2 separate regions of the Homo sapiens genome follow, and region 2 is linked to region 1. Evidence: promoter capture Hi-C in 16 types of primary human blood cells and fetal thymus (Javierre and others, 2016). All regions are on one chromosome and are shown on one strand. The core of a region is centred on a gene start or on the middle of the fragment in contact, and the rest is flanking DNA. Distances in the headings are between cores, read along the strand shown. Region 1 holds the start of MEIG1 (meiosis/spermiogenesis associated 1). Region 2 overlaps NMT2 (N-myristoyltransferase 2).

What was found. Contacts are between HindIII fragments. The CHiCAGO score rates a contact against its expected background, and 5 or more counts as called.
Region 2: a fragment that was not itself captured here is called in contact with the fragment with the promoter of MEIG1 in region 1 in 2 of 17 cell types (neutrophils and monocytes); the score reaches 6.8 in neutrophils.

Annotation. Positions count from the first base shown.
Region 1 is chr10:14,956,778-14,961,705 of GRCh38, forward strand. It overlaps MEIG1 (meiosis/spermiogenesis associated 1), which reads left to right and starts at 2,611. Exons shown (of 3, transcript NM_001080836.3): 1 at 2,611-2,780. RefSeq lists a silencer at 2,834-2,883. The HindIII fragment of the contact is 3,683 bases long and covers 1-3,585 here.
Region 2 is chr10:15,114,345-15,119,078 of GRCh38, forward strand. The region is part of intron 9 of NMT2 (N-myristoyltransferase 2); the gene reads right to left. The region is part of intron 1 of LOC105376431 (a long non-coding RNA gene); the gene reads left to right. Among named protein-coding and RNA genes, the nearest start is that of RPP38, 19 kb to the left of the region's middle. The HindIII fragment of the contact is 4,141 bases long and covers 1-3,664 here.

The DNA of each region.
Region 1 (4,928 bases), core at 1,361-3,860:
ATGTGGCCCATCCTGGTGGCTCCTGCCTGTAATCTCAGCACTTTGGGAGGCCAAGGCAGGTGGATCACTTGAGGCCAGGAGTTAAAGACCAACATGACAAAACCCCAGCTCTACTAAAGATGCAAAAAGAATTAGCCGGGTGTGGTGGTACACCTACAATAACAACTACTTGGGAGCTGAGGCACAAGAATCACTTGAACCTGGAGGCAGAGATTGCAGTGAGCCAAGATGGCACCACTGCACTCCAGTCTAGACGACAAAAGAGACCCTGTCTCAAAAAAATAAAACTAAAAAAGCAGACAAAAATCCCTGTGGACGTGGGAGTGTACCTTCTAATGCAAGTAATTACTGTCTACCATTTATGTAGTTCCAGATGTTATCAGTGTTTTATACTCATTATTTCATCCTCACATCCTACCTGCCCATCAGATAGGTACACTTTCTGTCCTCATTTGCCAGTTGAGGATACGGAGGTTAAGTAGCTTGTCCAGGGTCATGTTGATAGTAAGTAGAGCTCAGATTTAAATCCAAGAAGGCCACCACACTTTTAGACACTGTGCTCTCTGACAACACACTGCTAGCCACCGTGCCATGCTGCCTCCACAGCATCGGAAGGGCAGTGATGAAATATACTGATTCAAAATATATCCCTTTAGCACCTACTGTGTGCTAGGCAGTGTTAGGCCAGTGTGGCTGCAGCAGAATGATCCGGGGCTACAGAGGAAGGAGGGAGGGTGTTGTGAGCAAATCTTACAGGGCTTTGCTCACCATGTATAGCCTCTGGTTTTCACTCTCCATAAGATGGGAAGCCATTGCAGGGTTGTGAGCAGAGGACTGACATAATTTGACTTAGGTTTTTTTGTTTTGTTTTCTTTGAGACGGAGTCTCCCTCTATGCCCAGGCTGGAGTGCAGTGACGCAATCTCGGCTCACTGCCACCTCCACCTCCACCTCCACCTCCTGGGTTCAAGCGATTCTCCTGCCTCAGCCTCCCGAGTAGCTGGGACTACAGGTGCACGCCACCACTCCCAGCTAGTTCTTTTGTATTTTTAGTAGAGAAAGGGTTTCACCATATTGGCCAGGCTGGTCTCGAACTCCTGACCTCGTGATCTGCCCACCTCAGCCTCCCAAAGTGCTGGGATTACAGGTGTGAGCCACCGCGCCCGGCCTTGACTTAGGTTTTAAACAGATTGCATTGACTGTTGTGTTGACAACAGACTACAGAGGGGGCATAGAGAGCTGTTGGGAACGGTTGTAATTACCAGAAAAAAGAAAAATTATGATGGCTTGAGTAGAAGCTATAAAGTCAGCAGGTTGCATTGATGGATATGGAAAGAGAGGGCTCTAGGCCACATCTACTAAAAGACATGAAGAAGGAGCAGGGTTTTTGTTTTTGTTTTGGCAGGGAGGTGTTTGGGGAGGTTGTTTTGTACAATCAAGTGGATGTTGAATATACATTGATATACAAATCTAAAGTTCAGAGAAAGACCGGGCTGAAGAGAGAAATTTGGGAGTTGTAAGTAAATAGTTTTTTGTTTTTAGTTTTACTAAGTATTGCCTTTGTTTTAGTATGACTCGTTTATTTAGAAGTTTATATAATTTAATTTGTGATATGTCTTGTGTTTTTGTTTTGTTTGGGGCAGGTGCCCGAGGCCCTTGTCATCTTCATTGACTCCAGCTCATGGCTTGTATTTAACAACGAGCTCAGAAAAATTCCTAAAAATTTAATTACTGAGTCTCCAGAGCTCTAATGAGCTGGCTCCAGCACACAATTGCTCCTTTCTTTCATTCAACAATTTGACAAGTCCTGATGGCTCTACATTCAAAACATGTAAATTGGCCGGGCGCGGTGGCTCACGCCTGTAATCCCAGCTCTTTGGGAGGCCGAGGCGGGTGGATGACGAGGTCAGGAGATCGAGATCATCCTGGCTAACACGGTGAAACCCCGTCTCTACTAAAAATACAAAAAATTAGCCAGGCGTGGTGGTGGGTGCCTGTAGTCCCAGCTACTCGGGAGGCTGAGGCAGGAGAATGGCGTGAACCCGGGAGGCGGAGCTTGCAGTGAGCCGAGATAGCACCACTGCACTCCAGCCTGGGCGACGGAGCGAGACTCCGTCTAAAAAAAAACAAAAACAAAAAAACAAAAAACCGTATATCTTGAATCTGATCACTTTTCGCTTAGATAGTACTGTAATATAGTAATAGATAATGCTAGAAAAAATAATTAAAGCTATAGATATCATCTATTGTAGGTTTACTGATTGTCAGGCACTATGGCGACTCTCTGGAATGGTTCATTCCTCGCAAATGAATAGATAGGAGATATCTACTATCAGGAACTACAAACACAGTCTCCGTGCTGTGATCCGCTTTCACAGGGAATTTTGTCTGGGATTCAAGTAGCGGCAAGTAACCCTTTTTCGCCCTCCATCTCTGCTCAGGGGTGAGCCCTGGCAGCGCTCCTACCTGGGACCTACATTGGCTTAGTAAGATGGGCCGGCGCCCACCCCAGCCCTCGCGCATGCGCATAAAAGCCCACTCCCGGGGGCGGGGCCTGAGCTAGCTGGGCGGGGCCTGAAGGAGCCGGGAGCTCCTGCAGCTTCATCGCGTTACTAAGAGACGCGAGGGTCGCGAAGGGCACAACACTTGGCCTCTCGCTGGCCCTGCTCGCGGATCCCGAGTAGAGAACGCAAGCACCCACGCCCGCCTGCAAGCTCCCGGGCGCCCCCGGCCTCTCCTGCTCGGCGGAACGAGGATAACCCAGTAGAGCCGGACCCAGGGGTGGGTGGATGCGTCGCTGGAGGCGAGGGCCCTGCCCGCCAACCCCTGCGCCCCGGCCGTAGCCCCACCCCGGAAGTTCTTGCCCCGCCTTCTCGGCTCCGCAGTTCTCTGCTGTCTCCTGAGGTTTGCCAGGGAGATCCCGTGGTTTTCATGTCTCTTCCGTGATTTTTAGGGAAGAGGGTCACTATTTGGCCCTTCCAGAATCTCAGGGTCCGGTTCTCCCGGAAGTTTCCGGGCCGCCCCGGACCCCATTGGCTTTAGGGGCCGCGTCTCCGAGGGCTCCGATTTGGGCCCTAGATTTTGGAATACTGTGTTTTGTCCGTCCCAGCCTTCACCAGGCGGATTTCATCTCCCACACAGTTAGTGATTTATGGCAGAAAGGAAGCTGGAGGGATGGGGACTGCAGGTTAGCTGTGAGGGCCGGAAGGGAGCGGTTTTGTGCTGCACACAGGCAGGTCAGCACTCCCAGAGCAGGGACCGCCGGGCGTGCTTTCGGAACCGCTTTTGTCTTTCAAATGAACGCCCAGCGACAGCAGACGGGAGTTCCAGGACCTTAGAGACCGGCTAATGCTTCTCTTTAAGTTAGGAAACAGGCGCAGGCGTGTTCATGGCCTTGCCTAAGGTTACGTGCTGGTTACAGGGCTCCTCCTGCTGCCTCTTAAGAACAGAAATAATCTAATAGGAGGAATAAAAGGGACTATTAGGGAGGCTAATGCTCTTGAAGTTTTAATACTACTAAAAGTAAAAGCGCTTTTCAGAGTGAAAGGGAAGTGAAAAGGGAATTTGGGTGGCTGGCTACATCAGAAGCTTCTGTTCCAACTTTAGATTGTCAGGGAGTTGAGATGGTGTTTTTTGTTTTTATTTTTGTTTTAGTTTTTTGAGACGGAGTCTCGCTCTGTAGCCCAGGCTGGAGTGCAGTGGCGGGATCTCGGCTCACTGCAAGCTCCGCCTCCCGGGTTCACGCCATTCTCCTGCCTCAGCCTCCCGAGTAGCTGGGACCACAGGTGCCCGCCACGATGCCCGGCTAATTTTTTGTATTTTTAGTAGAGACGGGGTTTCACTTTGTTGGCCAGGATGGTCTCGATCTCCTGACCTCGTGATCCACCCGCCTCGGTCTCCCAAAGTGCTGGGATTATAGGAGTGAGCCACCGCGCCGAGATGGTGTGTTTTTAAAATAACGTGCCCGAGGCCGGGCGTGGTGGCTCACCCCTGTAATCCCAGCACTTTGGGAGGCTGAGGCAGGCGGATCACCTGAGGTCGGGAATTCGAGACCAGCCTGACCAACATGGGAAAACCTCGTCTCTACTAAAAATACAAAAAAATTAACCAGGCATGGTGGCGCATGCCTGTAATTCCAGCTACTCGGGAGGCTGAGGCAGGAGAATCGCTTTAACCTGGGAGGCGGAGGTTGTGGTGAGACAAGATCACGCCATGGCGCTCCAGCCTGAGCAACAAGAGTGAAACTCCATCTCAAAAAAATAATAAATAAATAAATAAAATAACATGCTCCTCAATTTAACTATGGGATTATGTCCCAATACACCCATGGTAGGTCGAAAATGCATTTAATGCACCTAGCCAACTTTAAACGTCCTCAGAACACTTAGCTCCCCTGCAGTTGGGCAACATCATCTAACACAAAGCCTATTTTATAATAAAGTGTTGACTATGTCATGTAACTTACTGAATACTGAATTCAAAGTGGAAAACAGAATGGTTGCGTGGGTACTCGAATTACTGAATGCGTATTGCTTTTGCACCATGGTAAAGTGGAGATATGAGTTGAACCATTCCACGGGACCATCTGTATGCATATAAACCCTAAGTATTTCATATAATTCAGTTTCACAAACCAGAAACTCAGGCATTGCTGTTTCCTGTTTGTGGAGCTACAACTTGGTATTTTAGATGTCAAATTTATTTATTTTTTTGAGATGGTGTCTTGCTCTGTCACCCAGGCTGGAGTGCAGTGGTGCGATCTTGGCTCACCGCAACCTCCGTCTCCTGGGTTCAAGTGATTCTCCTGCCTCAGCCTCCCGAAGTAGCTGGGACTACAGGCAGCCGCCACCGCATCCGGCTAATTTTTTTTTTTTTTTTTTTTTAGTAGAGACAGGTTTTCACCAGGTTGGCTAGGCTGGTCTCGAACCC
Region 2 (4,734 bases), core at 344-2,843, 160 kb after region 1:
CTTGCTGTTAAAATGACCAGAGAATCACCAACTGTTGGGGAAGAGTGGGATGATCTTTCCATTGTCCCTCACACCCAATCAATTGTAAAGACTGATAAAAAACAAAACAAAACAAAACAAAACAAAAAAACCCCGCTCACAACAAAACCCACCATGGCACCATGTCTAGATGGCTTATAAGCAACTTCTAACAACTTTCAAGGAACAAGTAATCCCTATTATTACATACACTGTTCCAGAGAAAAGAGAGGACAAGCTCTTCAGCTCATTCTAACTTTGGTATCAAGACAGGACAAGGACAGGGTAAGAAGGGGAAATTAATGGCCAACCTCAGTAGTGAGTATAGAAGATCCTAAGTAAAATATTAGCAAACTAGGGCTGGGCATGGTGGCTCATGCCTGTAATCTCAGCACTTGGGGAGGCCAAAGTGGGTGGATTTTCTGAGCTCAGAAGTTCGAGACCAGCCTGGCCAACGTGGTGAAACCCCGTCTCTACTAAAATACAAAACATTAGCAGGGTGTGGTGGCATGCGCCTGTAGTTCCAGCTACACAGGAGGCTGAGCACAAGAATTGCTTGAACCCAAGAGGCGGAGGTTGCAGTGAGCAGAGATTGCACCATTGTACTCCAGCCTGGGTGACAGAGCAAGACACTGTCTCCAAAAAAAATTAAAAAAAAAAATTGGGAAACTAAATCTAAAAACAGAGGTAGTCTCACACAAATGGAAACCAAAAGAATGTGTCACTAGCAGACATACCCTGAGACTGGCTAAAGGAATTTCTTCAAATAGAAAGGAAATAATAAAAGAAGGAATCTTGAAGCATCAGGAAGGAGGGAAGAATAATAGAGTAGAAATTTGGGCTACATATAATAAATTATGCTTCTCCTCAAGCATCATTATTAATCAGTGTTACAAATCATACTTGATGATTAAAACAAAAATCATAATACTGTCTGATATTTAAGACAACAATATTTAAAAATGAAAAAGGTAAAGTGACCTAAATAAAAGTAAGGTGACTCAAAGTAATAAATGTTGTTACCAATCGACTATAAGTCACATATATATATTGTAATACTCACATCAACCATCATAAAAACTATACAAATACACCCAAAGGTACTATAAATAAAACAGTATCCTAAAATATATTCAAGTAATCCACAGCAAGGCAAGAAAAAAGAAACAGAGGAACAAGAACCAGAAGAAACATAAAGAAACCAAATAATCAAATGGTAGACTTAAGCTCTACCATACCAATAATCACCTTTTATGTAAGTGGTCTAAATACACCAATCAAAAGAAACATCAGTAGTGTGGGTAAAGAAACATGACCCAGCTATAGGCTGTTTCCAAGAAACTCACTTCAAATTCAATAACATCAATAGTTTGAAAGTAAAAGGATGGAAAAAGTCCAAACAATTTTTAAAAGCAGGTCTGGTCACAGTAATATACAATAAAGTATACTCCAGAGCAAGGAAAATTATTAGAAAGAGAGGTATTACATTATGATAAAAAGATCAATCCACTAGGGAGACACAAAGACCCTAATATACATGTGAGTATCAAACAAGAGGCCCAGAAGAAATCAAGAAAAACTGACAGTGTTGGAAGGAGAAATAGACAAATCCACAATTACAGCTGGGGACTTCCATGCCCCTCTCATCAAGTGATAGAACTGCTAGACAGAAAATCAGCATGGAAACAGAAGAGCTGAATAACTCAATTAATCAACATGATGCAATTGCCATACAAAGAACACTCCACACAACCGTAGTGGTATACACGTTTCATGCACCCATGGAATATCCATCAAGACAGTCCATATCCCGAGTAATAAAACAAACCTCAAGAGCCTTAAAATAATCAAAACCATACAGTGTGTGTTCTTTAACCATAATTGAATCAAACTAGAAATCTGTAATAGGGAGACAACAGAAAATCTCTAAACACAGCAAAATTGAACAGCACAATTCTAAGTAGGGGTGGGCTAAAGAGGAAGCCTCAAACGAAACCAAAAAATACATAGACGTGAATGACAACGAAGATACAACATACCAAAATACGTCAGAAATAGCTAAAGCAGTGCAGAGAGGGAAACTGATAGAACTAAATGCTTACTAGTAACAGGGAAAGGTCTCAAGTCAGTAAGTTCTTCCCTCAAGGAACTAGAAAAGAAGAGCAAAATAAACCCAAAGCAAGCAGACAGAAGGAAACAATAAACACGAGGGTAGAAATCAATGACACTGAAAACAGGAAGACAACAGGGAATATCCAACAAAAGTCTGGTTCTCTGGGAAACAAATCAATAAAATGATACAAGTCTACCAATATGGACAAAAACAAAGAAAGAGAAGACACGAATCACCAATATCTGGTATGAAAGAAGAGATATCAGTACAGATCCCACAGCCACTAAAAGGATAACAAGGGAATAAAATGAACATTAATTACACTCATACATTCAACAATTTAGAAGAAATGGATGAACTCCTCAAAAACTATTAAAACTCAACCAAGATGAAACAGATCATCTGAATAGTGCTATAACCATTAAAGACATTTAGTCCATTATTTAAAAACTCCCAAAAAAGAAACAGCTAAGCTCAGATCATTTCAACTGGAGAATTCTAACAAACATTTAAAGAATTAACACCAATTCTCAATTTCTTCTAGAAAATAGAAGAGGAAATAATACTTCCCAACTCCTATTATGAGACCAGTATTATCTTGATATCTAAACCAGACAGACATTACAAAAAAGGCACTCCAGAGAGATATCTCTCATGAACTCAACAAATACTCAGCAAAATATTAGCAATCAATACAACAATGTATAAAAATAATTATACACCCTGACCAAGTGGATATTTTCTAGGAATGTAAGAGTGACCCAACATTTGAAAACCAATCAATGTAATCTAACATATCAACAGATTAAAGGAGAAAAATCATATGATTACATCTATTGAAGCAGAAGCAGCACTGGAAAAAATCCAATGCCCATTCATAAGAACTCTCAGCAAGTTAGAAATAGAGGAGAATGACCTCAAATTGATTAGGAGCACCCACAGAAAAACCTACAGCTAACATCATACTTCATGGTGAAAGAGTAAATGCTTTTCTCCCACCATCAAGAACACGACGAGGATGACAACCTTCCCCACTCTTTCTCAACAAAGCACTGGAAGATCTAGGTCCTGCATTAATGCAAGACCAATAAATAAAGGCATCGAGATTGGAAAGGAAGCAATAAAGCTGTCCCTATTTGCAGATGACACATTGTCTATGTAGAAATCACAAGGAATCTACACACAAACTCCTGGAACCAGTAAGTGATTTCAGCACTGTGGTAGGATACAAACACACAAAAGAAAGCATTTCTACAGGCTAACAATGAACATGCAGAAACTGAAATTAAAAACACAACACCATTATAATCGCCCCAAAGAAAGTGAAATATCTAGCTATACACTTAAGAAAACATGTACAGGATCTGGATGCTCTTAGAGAATGCTGATAAAAGAGATTTTAAAAGACCGAAATAAATGTAGAGACATTCCATGTTCATGGACTGGAAGACTTTTCAATTATCCTCAAATTAATCTATCAGTGTAATGTAATCCCTATCAAACTACCAGCAAGGTATTTTGTAGGCAAAAATAAGCTTATTCTAAAATGTATATGCAAAAGGCAAAGGAAATAGGTTAATTAAAATGATCTTGACAAACAAGAATAAAGTGGGAGGAATTACTCTACCTGATACTAAGGCTTCCTATATCGCTATAGCAACGAGGTCAGTGTGGTATTAGTGAAAAGACAGACATGGAGATCAACGAAATAGAATATAGAGGACCCAGAAAGGAACGCAATACAAAGTGTTAGTATTCAGCATATAAAAAACCTTTCACGGGCTGGGCACAGTGGCTCACACCTATAATTCCAGCACTTTGGGAGGCCAAGGCAGGTGAATCACCTGAGGTCAGGAGTTCAAGACCAAGCCTGACCAACATGGTGAAACCCCGACTCTACTAAAAATACAAAAATTAGCCGGGCATGGTGGCGCACGCCTGTAATCCCAGCTACTCGGGAGGCGGAGGCAGGAGAATAGCTTGAACCTGGGAGGTGGAGTTTGCAGTGAGCCGAGATTGTGCCACTGCACTCCAGCCTGGGCAACAAGAGCAAAATTCCATCTCAAAACAAACAAACAAAAAACCTTTCATAAATCAGTAAGACAACTACGGTCAAAAAAAAAAAACAGGCAAGTGATGTAAATAGCAAGTTTATAAAAGAAATAAACATGGCTAACAGATTGATGAGATACTCAAATTCATCAACAATGAGGATATAAATTAACAAGATACTGTTCCATACTCATCAGGTGGGCCTAAATAAATTTAAAATCTGACCATACCCACGTCTTGTGAGGATGCAAGGAAACAGGAACTCTCTTACACTGCTCAGGACCTTATTGTGGTGAGCTATTTGGCAATTTCTAAAAATGTGAAAGATGGGTCCAACCACAGACTCAGCAGCTCTAATGATATGCCCTGGAAAGCAGTTCCCAAAATGTGGTCTGTGAACCCTGTGGGTACCTGAGACCCTTTCAGAAATCTGTGAGGTCAAAATGATTTTCATAACACTAAGAAGTTGTTTGCCTTGTTGACAAGTTACCATCAGCATCAACGGTGCAAAGCAGTGCTGTGGGTAAAGCTGCTGGTGCCTTAGCACAAAA